Regions from separate parts of the Homo sapiens genome. Here region 1 is linked to region 2. Evidence: promoter capture Hi-C in 16 types of primary human blood cells and fetal thymus (Javierre and others, 2016). All regions are on one chromosome and are shown on one strand. Each heading gives the region's core, a stretch centred on a gene start or on the middle of the fragment in contact. The rest is flanking DNA. Distances are from core to core; before and after follow the strand shown.

What was found. The method cuts DNA at HindIII sites, captures the fragments that hold promoters and counts their contacts. A CHiCAGO score of 5 or more calls a contact.
Region 1: a contact is called between a fragment that was not itself captured here and the fragment with the promoter of CHIC2 in region 2, in 1 of 17 cell types (naive CD8 T cells). The highest score is 6.3, in naive CD8 T cells.

Annotation. Positions count from the first base shown.
Region 1 is chr4:56,378,066-56,383,891 of GRCh38, reverse strand. It overlaps AASDH (aminoadipate-semialdehyde dehydrogenase), which reads left to right. Exons shown (of 15, transcript NM_181806.4): 3 at 1,295-1,415; 4 at 5,428-5,744. Among named protein-coding and RNA genes, the nearest start is that of AASDH, 6.5 kb to the left of the region's middle. The HindIII fragment of the contact is 4,396 bases long and covers 1,898-5,826 here.
Region 2 is chr4:54,060,570-54,066,205 of GRCh38, reverse strand. It overlaps CHIC2 (cysteine rich hydrophobic domain 2), which reads left to right and starts at 1,601. Exons shown (of 6, transcript NM_012110.4): 1 at 1,601-2,024. The coding sequence starts at 1,906. RefSeq lists silencers at 1,294-1,533, 1,764-1,893 and an enhancer at 1,693-2,193. The HindIII fragment of the contact is 3,181 bases long and covers 1-2,777 here.

The DNA of each region.
Region 1 (5,826 bases), core at 2,846-5,345, 2.3 Mb before region 2:
ATTATTCTGAGCTTATTTAGGAAAGACTAGAAGCTTTCACTAATAGAACGTATAAGTATCTCCAAAATGTAAGGGCTTCATTAATCTGTTAAAGGAAAACAATTATAACAATTTATAACACTTTGTTGTTAGATAAAAGAAAACAGGATTTCACAGATAACATGACTATGTTTTTTGTCCGCAACTGAAATTTGAGGCACTAAGGTATTCAATAAATCAGTAAATTAGAGTTTTGGATAATAGTTGATATAGATTGAAATATGAACCCATTAGAAGACACTATTCCAACAAATATTTGCAAAATGTTCAATCATTTAAATTGTTCTAGAATGTTATCCTCATATAGTGATTTCTATTCTAGAACTCTGCAGTAAGTATAAACTGCCAAAGAAATAGTTTATTCATTCTATAATATGTGTCTTAGTAAATTAATTATATAAATATAAAGCAAAAGATGTTCAAAAATTTACTTTTGGCCAGGCACAGTGGCTCACACCTGTAAATCCCAGCACTTTGAGAGGCTGAGGCTGGAGTATTATTTAAGGCCAGGAGTTCGAGACCACCCTGGTGACTTCACAAGACCCCATCTCTATAAAACAAATAAAAACAACAACAAAAATTTACTTTCACTCAATTATTGACGAAATTTATTGAGAATTTACTATGTGCAAAGATCTAGTGTCCTTAAAGTATACCTGAAACTACTTAAAATGCTTAACTTTAAAAAAATCTTGTATTTCTCTATATTAAGTGATAAGAATTTAACATAGTAAATACTCAGGATTTTCATTAAGAAAAGATAAAATGACAGTGTTTATGTATTTATTTATTTTTGAGATGAAGTTTCACTCTTATTGCCCAGGCTGGAGTGCAACGGCGTGATCTCGGCTCACCGCAACCTCCGCCTCCCGGGTTCAAGCAATTCTCCTGCTTCAACCTCCCAAGTAGCTGGGATTGCAGACGCCCGGCTGATTTTGTATTTTTAGTAGAGACAGGGTTTCTCCATGTTGGTCAGGCTGGTCTCCAACTCCCGACCTCAGGTGATTCGCTCGCCTCAACCTCCCAAAGTGCTGGGATTACAGGCGTGAGCCACCGTGCCCGGCTAAAATGACAGCGTTTATTACCAACTATGTGTCAGTGAAAACATTGGAAATTTCTGATCAGCAATAAAGTGCTCCGGAAACCATTTTTATGCTGCTACAAAAAATAAATAAAGTGCATAGAGAAATAGAAATGCTTAAACAAATACTAAATCAACAGACATTCTATGCTGACTGTGTACTTTTTTCTTTAGAATTCTCCAAGTCCCGGCTGCTTATGTACCTATCGAGCCAGATTCACCACCGTCATTATCAACTCATTTTATGAAAAAATGTAATCTAAAGTATATCCTTGTTGAAAAAAAACAAATTAATGTAAGTCTGGATGTTTCAATTGTTTTTTGCCTGTATTACATTTATTTCAATTGAAACATTCCTTCCTTCTCCCATCTGGATTCCTAAGTCTGCTAAATGTGGCAAGGTTTCTCAGTCTTTGCACTATGACATTTTTAGGGTTGAGTAATTGTTGTGAGGAGTGTTCCGTATATTATAGGATATTTAGCAATATATTTGACCTCCACTCGCTAGACCTCAGTAGCACCTCCCAGTCATAACAACCAAAAATCTCCAGACATTGCCAATTGTCCCCCAGAGGGGCTCTCCACCCCTCACACTCCATTGTGAGCCACTATTCTGTAGTATGAACAGATCTGTTAGCCTTATAATAATATATTATGCATTGTTTTGAATTTCTCTTTCCAAAGTATTTCCTATACTGCAAAATTTTATAATACTTGGAACTTTCATATTTATGGCAATTACATTGGTCAGCAACACTGAAGAATTATAACTAAGCTTGCATTTTGAAAAAGAGACTGGTACTTAGAGGAGATCTTTCCAGAAAAGTAAATTTATTGTTTTTTTATTTTTAAATGATTGCCAACCAAAGATATAACCAAGAAACTCTGTTTTTGGGGCAAGAATTGGTGTTATATCTTCAGCAAGATGCAGCCCATGCTTCATTGTTTATTTATTATTTATAAAATATTGTTTTACTAAAGGGGAAGAACATTATAAAAATATATTCAATTTAGCCTGTTTTTGCCCATTTTCTATATGAGCCAGTTTGTATTGGGGTAACTTAAATGCATTCCCTGCTTTCACCCCCCCCAACTGTGTGTGTGTGTGTGTGTGTGTGTGTGAGAAGTGTCAAGAACTTGAGGTATATGGGGGACTTTCTAGAGACTCAAAGGGTTTTTTTTTTTTTGAGCCAGAGTCTCACTCTGTTACCCAGGCTGAAGTGCAATGGGCAGTGGTGCGATCTCAGCTCACTGCAACCTCCGCCTCCCAGGTTCAAGCGGTTCTTGTGCCTCAGCTGCCCAAGTAGCTGGAATTACAGGTGCATGCCACCACACCCGGCTAATTTTTGTATATATATTTTTAAGTAGAGACAAGGTTTCACCATGTTGGCCAGGCTGGTCTTGAACTTCTGACCTCAAGTGTTCTGCCTGCCCCGACCTCCCAAAGTGCTGGGATTACAGGCATGAGCCACCACACCTGGTCTGGTTAATAAATATTTTTAAAATAATTACTTATTAGTGTGTAGCCGAAATTTCCTCTACTCCTCAAATTGGTTATTGCATTGTTCATAAGTAAGCAAAACTGAAATGGGGATGTGATGTTTATTTTTCTTAGCAATCTTAGTGAAAATTTTATAAAAGGTAGCTGAGTATCAGTATTAATTGTCAATGTCAAGGTATTCTTTATGACCAGTAGGAGTTGGACATAGCAAAACCCAAAAAGGAGTTGGGCGCAGCAAAACCTTGCTTCCTATCCCATGATTTTGATGATGGTGTAAGTGTTCTTCCTTCATTTAACACAGGAACGATCAGTAAGTATTTTTAAGCATCTACTGTATGTATGCCCAGCATCCACTAAAGCAGTAGTTCTCAACTGGGGACAATTGGCAATGTCTAGACATATTTTTTATTGTAATGATGGAAGTGGGGTGCTACTGGCATCTGGTGGGTAGAGGCCAGCGATACTGCTAAAAATCCTACAGTGTATAAGACAGCACTCCACTAAGAATTTTCTGGTCCAAAATATCAGTAGTGTTGAAGTTGAGAAACCTTGCACTACGGACAGGATGATTGGGAGGGCATTAGCATATAAGCCTTCCAGCTTTTTATAATGTAGTTGGAGAGAAAAGTTAATACTTCTGAACCTATAACATCTACATAGTGTGATAATTGTCCTAAGTGAAGTAAACATAACCTAGTAGATATAGTAGAATTTTAATGGGGAGGGATGGTTTTGAGCTAGATCTGAAGCGTATGTAGTTCTTTAATTTTTCAAATATTACAGGCCACACCACATCCCCTACCCAATACATACACACATTAAACACACAAAGAAAACACTGTAGGCTTCTGGGTTGTGACCTTTTTCTCATTATTTATGTTGATTTATTTAATGTGAAAACTTAGGTTATATTTCATTAAGCTGTTGTTGTCAACCTAAAAAGATATATTCAAAGAAACCTTACTTTCAACATGTACAAATTCAGTTTAGCATCTCTTCATCCAAACTCACTTCTGGATTAATTCTTCTCCATCCACCAAATCACCTGGGCCAGAAACCCAACAATTTTCTTAGACTCACTCTATATCCAGAAAGTCACCATGTCTTATTTATTCTTTGCTCATAGACCCTTTCTAACCACTCCTCTTGTAACAGAATAGTAGTTCAGGACCATATAGTATATCCGAATTACTGCAAAAGACTCATTAAATGGTTCTCACTTAGCAGAATCTCATTTATTATTCTGTCCTTGATAGAGTCTAATCTATGCTATTGCCACCTTCAATTGGATCCTGTCACTTACAGGTTAAGATCTAAACTCCTTAGTGCTGAGTGTACACGGTTATTAAGGATTTGCATCTCATCTCCTATCAACAACGCACCTCACCTTTTCCCTCTCCCCCACCCCGTTCTTTACCTTAATTGGAAGGCTTAATGTTCACATACCAGCTTTCCCAGGTCAGATCCTCAATGTTGGCTGTTTGCCTGAAGTGCCCATTTTTATTATTTGGAGAATAGCTACTTATAACAAATATTACCCATGAAGCAATCTCTGACCTTCTAGGCAGAGTTCGGCATTCTCTGTTCCCATTAACATTTCAAGCCTGCTTTATTATCATACGCATTGCATTATAATTGCTTGTATATGTCTGGTGTTTTTGAAAATAAGTTAGTAAGGACAGCACTTTGCTCTTGGAGATTTATTTATCTTTTTACCCCCGGGTATACAGCAAGTACTTCCCCCCACTCCCCAAAAACGTCATGTTGAATGAGTAAATGAATACAGTTGGCCCTCTGTATCCAGAGGTTTCCTATCCGAGGATTCATCCAACTGCAGACTGAAAATATTTGGGGCCCACGCCTATAATCCCAGCACTTTAGGAGACTGAGGCAGGAGATCATTTGAGGCCAGGAGTTTGAGACCAGATTGGGTAACATAGTGAGACATCGTCTCTGCTAAAAATAAAAAGCTAGCTGGGTGTTTTGGTGCACACCTGTAGTTCCAGCTACTCAAGAGGCTGAGGTGGGAAGATCGCTTGAGCCCAGCTGTTCGAGGTTGCAGTCAGTTAAGATTACACTGCTGTGGTCAGGCGTGGTGGCTCATGCCTGTAATCCCAGCACTTTGGGAGGCTGAAGCTGGCGGATCATGAGGTCAAGAGATCAAGACCATCCTGGCTAACACGGTGAAACCCCGTCTCTGCTAAAAAAAATACAAAAACATTAGCCGGGCGTGGTGGCAGGTGCCTGTAGTCCCAGCTACTCGGGAGGCTGAGGCAGGAGAATGGTGTGAACCTGGGAGGCGGAATTTGCAGTGAGCTGAGATTGCGCCACTGCACTCCAGCCTGGATGACAGAGTGAGACTCCGTCTCAAAAAAAAAAAATAAATAAAAAAATAAAGATTATACCACTGCACTCCAGCCTGGGCAACAGAGTGAGACCCTGTCTCAAGAAAAAAAAAAAGAAAATATTCAGAAAAAAAAAAAAACCCAGTGCAACAGTAAAAACTAATACAGATTTAAAAATATAGCAACTATTTACATAGCATTAATTAGCATAGTTTTGTATTAGTTATAAGTAATCTAGAGATCATTTAAAGTATATGGGAGGATGTGCATGGTTTATATGCAAATACAGCACCATTTTATATAAGGGACTTGAGCATCTTCAGATTTTGGTATCTGAGATGATCCTAGAACCAATTCCCCCAAGGATACTGAGGGATGACTGTATTTCATATTACTTCTATATAAAGAAGAATATCTTTTAACATACTAATACTGTAAACTTTGTCCCCCATTTCACACAGAAATTTAAATCTTTTCATGAAACATTATTGAACTATGATACATTTACAGTGGAACATAATGACCTAGTGCTCTTCAGACTTCACTGGAAAAATACTGAGGTGAACTTGATGCTAAATGATGGAAAAGAGAAATATGAAAAAGAAAAAATAAAAAGCATAAGTTCTGAGCATGTCAATGAAGAAAAAGCAGAAGAACACATGGATCTGAGGCTAAAGCATTGCTTAGCCTATGTTCTACATACATCAGGGACTACAGGGATACCGAAGATTGTCAGAGTGCCTCATAAGTGTATAGTACCAAATATCCAGCATTTTCGGTAAGTTCTAGTCTTTGACTCTTTCTCAGAATCTATATTTTAGGCCAGGTGTGGTGGCTTATGCCTGTAATCCCAGCACTTT
Region 2 (5,636 bases), core at 352-2,851:
TAAGTGGCAGAGCTGACATTCAAGGCCAGGTAGTCAGGTTCCAGAACACACATTGTTAAACACCAGACCAAGCTGCCTCCTGTGTGCCCCACTGACACTTCCTGTGTCCTCCTCCATGAGCCCCTGGCAGAGATGACAATTGCTTGCCTTAACAATAGATAAGCTACCAGAAGTCAGGGCCTGTGCCTCATTCACACACGTCCACAGTGCCTGCCACATAGCTAGAGTTCAGTAGATATTTGTTGAATGAACAAATACCCTCCAGGGAGGGATACAATAAGTCTGATACAACTACTGTATTTTTCCTTCATTTTTTCTTGGCTAACCACACTCATTTCCTTCAGTTGTTTCCAAAAGGAGGTTGGCATCTCTCACTGTCCTCATTGACCTCCTTTGCACTTTCTCCACGTCAACAGTGACCCATCTAAAGCCGACTACTGTGACATGAACACTGCACTTGAAGAGCCTGACCAGCGCTGGGCTCAGTAGAACTATCCTTTCTTCTCCCATGGTGTATCCTCACTGTCCAGGACTCTCTTCTCAGAAGCCCACTCCTTCCCCTGTGCTGTTTATATGCTTAATGAAACCAAGTACCCAAAGTGACCGTTCAACTGTTACTAGGCAGCTAAGTAGACTCCATTAAACCTTTTCCTTCCTTCCTCCCCTTCTTTCTTTCTCTCCCATTCTTCTTTCATTCTTCTCGTCCTTCCTTCTATCCTTTCTTCCTTCCTGCCTCCTTTTCTTCCTCTCCTCTGCCCTTTCTTTCAGGTCTTTTTTGTGGTAGGAACTGGTAAGAAAAGGAAAGGAATTCCCTAAGATTTTAAGGAAACAACAACAAAAACCAGGTTATGTTTGGTGAGAGAGTTGGGGCAAGAAACTGCATCTTCTAATATGGAATCCAGGTAATTTATCAGTTTTTTTTCATAGCATGACTACGGTGAGATTTCTTGTAAGAAAAAAAAAAAAATACCAGCATCGCTGGCCTCATATATTGGATTATACTTAAGGGGATCAAGGGATAAGATGTTTGAATTTGGAGATGTCTTGAAAAATCCTGTGGTGAGCACAAATGTTTGCAGTGTCTCTGCTGGACTCCTCAAATTGGGAAAAAAGAGACTCTGGTTCTCATCATAGACTCAAAACCTGAGGAAAAGCGAGATGCGATTATTAGATAAACTGGCAATGACACGCACAAAAATGTGTCTATTCCAGCCAGGGCTTTTCTTTTCAGTTGTTTGTTTTGGTTAGAGATGACTTTGGGGAACTGCATGTCCCACTGGACATTCCAAGCTGCGTTGTCGGAGTCGCGGGTCGCGGCCTCCAGTCAGCGGAGCCGCCGCCCCCAGGGTCCGCCACCCAGAAGTCGGCGGAGGGGGGCCCGCCGGCGGGAGCGCGCGCCCCGGTCGCCGTCTGCGGGTAGAAGCAGAGGAAAGACGGTGGCCTGGGAGCGCGCGAGGCCGCACGTGCGCGCGCCCGCCCGCCCGCCAGCCAGTCCGCTCGCCCACGCGCCCACGCACGCGCCCGCCCGCCCGTTGGCCCGGGAAGTCTCGCGATGCCGTAGCCGGCTGCTCCCGCTGCGGGTGGCTCGGGCTGTTGCTGTGGTTTCCTGAGTTGCTGCTGCTGCGGCGGCGGCAGCGGCGTCTGTGCTTGTGGAGGTGTCGGCCTCTGGGCGGATGTTGACATTGTGTTGTTGTTATTGCTGATGGTAATGGCGGCGGCGGTGGCGGCGACGGTCCAGACCCCATCCCCTCTGTAGCCGGAGCCGAGACAGCCGACAGCGAACTCCGCGGCCTCGGAGCCGGCGGCAGCGGCGACTCCCCTCAGCCTCCGCCGCCTCGCCCGCCGGTACCCCGGCGCCAACCCCGGGAGTCAGGCCCTTTGGGCAGGGGAGCTCGGAGGCTCAGGATGGCGGATTTCGACGAAATCTATGAGGAAGAGGAGGACGAGGAGCGGGCCCTGGAGGAGCAGCTGCTCAAGTACTCGCCGGACCCGGTGGTCGTCCGCGGCTCCGGTCACGTCACCGTGTAAGGCCCGGAGGAGGGCGAGGGCGGGAGGTGCGGGCTGGGGTGGGCCCCGTTACTCCACGGGAGCCCCGTTTCCCCTGTGTCCGTCTGGTGTCGGGGGCCTTCCGAAAGAGTAGGCAACCAGGAAGTGAGAACTTGGCTTATTTTCATTTGTTTGGGTCTCCGAAGTGGGGACGGACGCTGTCCTTCCTCCTCCACACACCCCTTTAGCAGGCCCTACAGGCCCGGGCGATGTGACGATCCCAGTAGGCACGGGTTTTCATTAGGGTCTGCCCTGCGGGCCACCCTTCCTCTTCAGGGTGGAAGTACGTGTATTGACAGGGAGCCTCCTTGTTTTCTCGCCCAGTTACCCTGTGGTTGTCTGTGCCTTTGCACCCAGTGACATGGCTCAGAGGCCAGATCTGGGCCGTGTGAGACCCCAGTGACAATTGGCAGCGAAGCTCCGTTTCGTGTCTATTTCACACATACCCACAGGTCTCCCAGTTTTTCCACTAATTTCCGCAGAACTAATGCAAGTTCTTGTAATTGTACGTGATAAAAATATATAGTTGAACACAAATTTAAGATATACAGAAAGAAATATGTTTACAACAACAACAACAACAACTACGTGAGGGACATACACTCTGCTCAGGTTACTGAGGGAAAATTGTAGTCCTGAAGCTCCTCCTTGGGGCACGAACTTGGGGCTTGTTAATTTGGAAAGTCCCACTAGTAACATTAAAAGTCTGATATTAATAAGGAATGAAAGCTTTCGGAAAGACCATGACAAAGGAATGTGAAGCCTTGAACCAAATAATGAGCTGTCCGGAAGCAGGAAGTTTTGTAATGTTTCACTATGAAGTCCACAGTTTTGTACCACTTGATGTATTACATTGATACTCTCTCATTTTAGATCTCTTGTTCAAATAATAGATCAGACTTCCATACTTGTCAGGTATCTCTGTACTTCTTCACCTTTTCAGTGAAACAAAAGAGCCAGCAAGTCTGAGAATGTCTGGAATAGTCTTCATTATATTTTGGTGAAGAGTGAGTGGGATGTGCTGTGAATAACTTAGGGAAACAGTAAGACTTCTCATATAAGTTTGTCAGCAAAATAATTGCATTTCTCGTATGACCAGCCATATTGTTGTTTGAGTATGCTTATGTAATGCTTTAATTTCTTTAGTACCTGTTAGTTTATGTTCAGGTGACTTAACAGGGTAAAAACACTGCATAATTGCCATCACAGCACCATGACAAGACAGTGGAATTTAATTCACCACAATAATACTTTCTAAGTGTTGTCACCAGCTTAAGAAGTATAACCAAATATCATGGATATTAAACTTTTAACATATATCACAGAATTCATAACCTGCCATTTGATTTTATTTTGACTTTTAGGACCTTTTTGCACTGTTTTAAGCCTAAGGAGTATGTGGATGCTTAAAGAAGTGATTTCCAAACTTTGTCATGCCATCTATCCCTCCTTCTACATTCCTCATGTCAAAGAAAAGCTAGAGAATTTTGTCATTTAAAAAGGCGACGCTGTAGTTGTAATGTTTCCTCTGTTAAGGAGAAGAAAAGCTAAGCACTTTGTTGGGCAAGTGGAAAATGCAATAGTGGGCAAAGTGCTCAGAACCTAGGTAATCAGTAAACTTGATTGTAGTTGGCTACGTGGAGAGGTTAATAGGGTAGAAAATAATTATTAGTGGTTTTCAAACTTAGCTGTCCATTAGAATCCTGGGTGTCTTTAAAAAAAGACCATTGTCTTTGCTCCACCCCAGGCCAGTTGAAGGCCAAATACTAAGTGAGGGTCCTAGGAGTGGACAGTTAAAATAATAAATAAATAAATAAATAAATAAATAAAATCTCACAGGTGATTCTAATGTGTAGCCAAGATTGAAAACTATTCCAGGTTATAGGGAGGGACTATCTATCATCAATAAACAGTATGCCTTTCTACATTGTGAGTTAAATCTCTGATTTTCCTCAGCAACTTCCTTCTTCTCCCATTTATCTTGGTTCTAGGCTCTGGGTTAAAATCTATCTCAGCTACTTCCTGGATAAATTGTTTATTCATGACCTTTAGTTGAGATGGGGATAGTTATAGTCGATACCTTTTAAGATTATTAAGGATTAAATGAGATAGTACATGAAAAGAATTTATTGCACTGTGTGGTACTATGTTCAATAGATACTAGTTTTTATTATTCTCCTCCTCAGATATAGTTTTCCACTTTGAGAAACAGGTGTAAAACAAAGTACTAAAAAATTAGAACTGCCATTATCAAACATAACAATGATTCACCTTAGTCTTATTTTTCCATTTCTAAGCAATGTGTATGTGCTTAAATTACTGTGTTTGAAGTATTTTGATGACAATAAGGATCTTTCTGCATTGAAAACTTAACCTGTTTTGTGGCGACATAGGTAATAATAGAAAACTTTTTTTTTTAACATGGCTCTGTCATGCATAATTCCCAGGCACACTAGCACACCATGCCAGTGGGTAGCCCAGTTAACATCTATAAAGGTTTTTAGAATTGGTGCATATGTATTACTATAACTGTTGAGCACATTCAATTTTTCTTGCTTTAAATATAAATGGGAAGAGCTATTAGAACAGTTGTAGTAAGACTGGCTAAATTTAACACCCCCTCCTCCACCTTTTTTTTTTATTAGGTGCTGATCAGAGCAGTCTTCCCTTACCAATTTGAAAGTAATTGACCATGTAAACTGAATCATCTGTAGTCTAGATCAGTCTAGAAGGATATAGATCAATCCATATGTTTTTCACAGATGTAACTTTTGAGTAGCCCTTTACAATTGACTATTTCTGCTCTTTTTTTCTACTTTAATATATTACAGTATTACTGTTTATTTTAGAAACTGGTATTCTCACGTGACGTGATTGGCATGTCATTGTGGTGATGTGAGAAAGAAAGTTACCTTCCATTCTCTAGGTTAGTCTCTAGGCATAATCAGATTTTTGTGACATAGGATGCAACATGTTTAATTTGCCTAAAGTCTGCTTTAAAGTGGCTTTTAATGCAAATATTTTCCTTTTTTTAAATACAAATGTTTTCATCGTGACCCCCAAATCAGACTTACTTTTTATACTTCTCTCATGATCAGTATTCTTTTCTGACATTCTTCTGTTTAAGTATAATATTTCCCTTCATTGTTAGATTTCTAGGTAGCAATATGGGGAAATCTTGTGCAGAAGCATATTTTGAGGAAAGTGGTATTGGAAGGAAGGAAAATAAATGATAAATTCCTGTTATTGCATAGTATTTAGGTACATGTAACCTAAAAGGCTTACAGTCACCATTCAATTAAAAGTAGATTTCCTTTTTGCTTTCATGGTGACTTCTCATATAATTGACGATGAGGAAAAATAGTTTCTAAAATAAACAGTAATACTGTAAAAAGACTATTAGGTAGTCTTGACCAGATTGGTTAATATTTTAAAATTATGGAGTTCCTTATGCTTCAAAATATATTTGCAAAATATGTTGATCATTTATTGAAGAGTTTCGTTTTTCACAGTGGTAACTCTAAAGGATGTGTCAGTCTAAAAGTTAGAATTTAAAAGTAGTTTTAGGCCAATATTTCCTAGGTAATCTG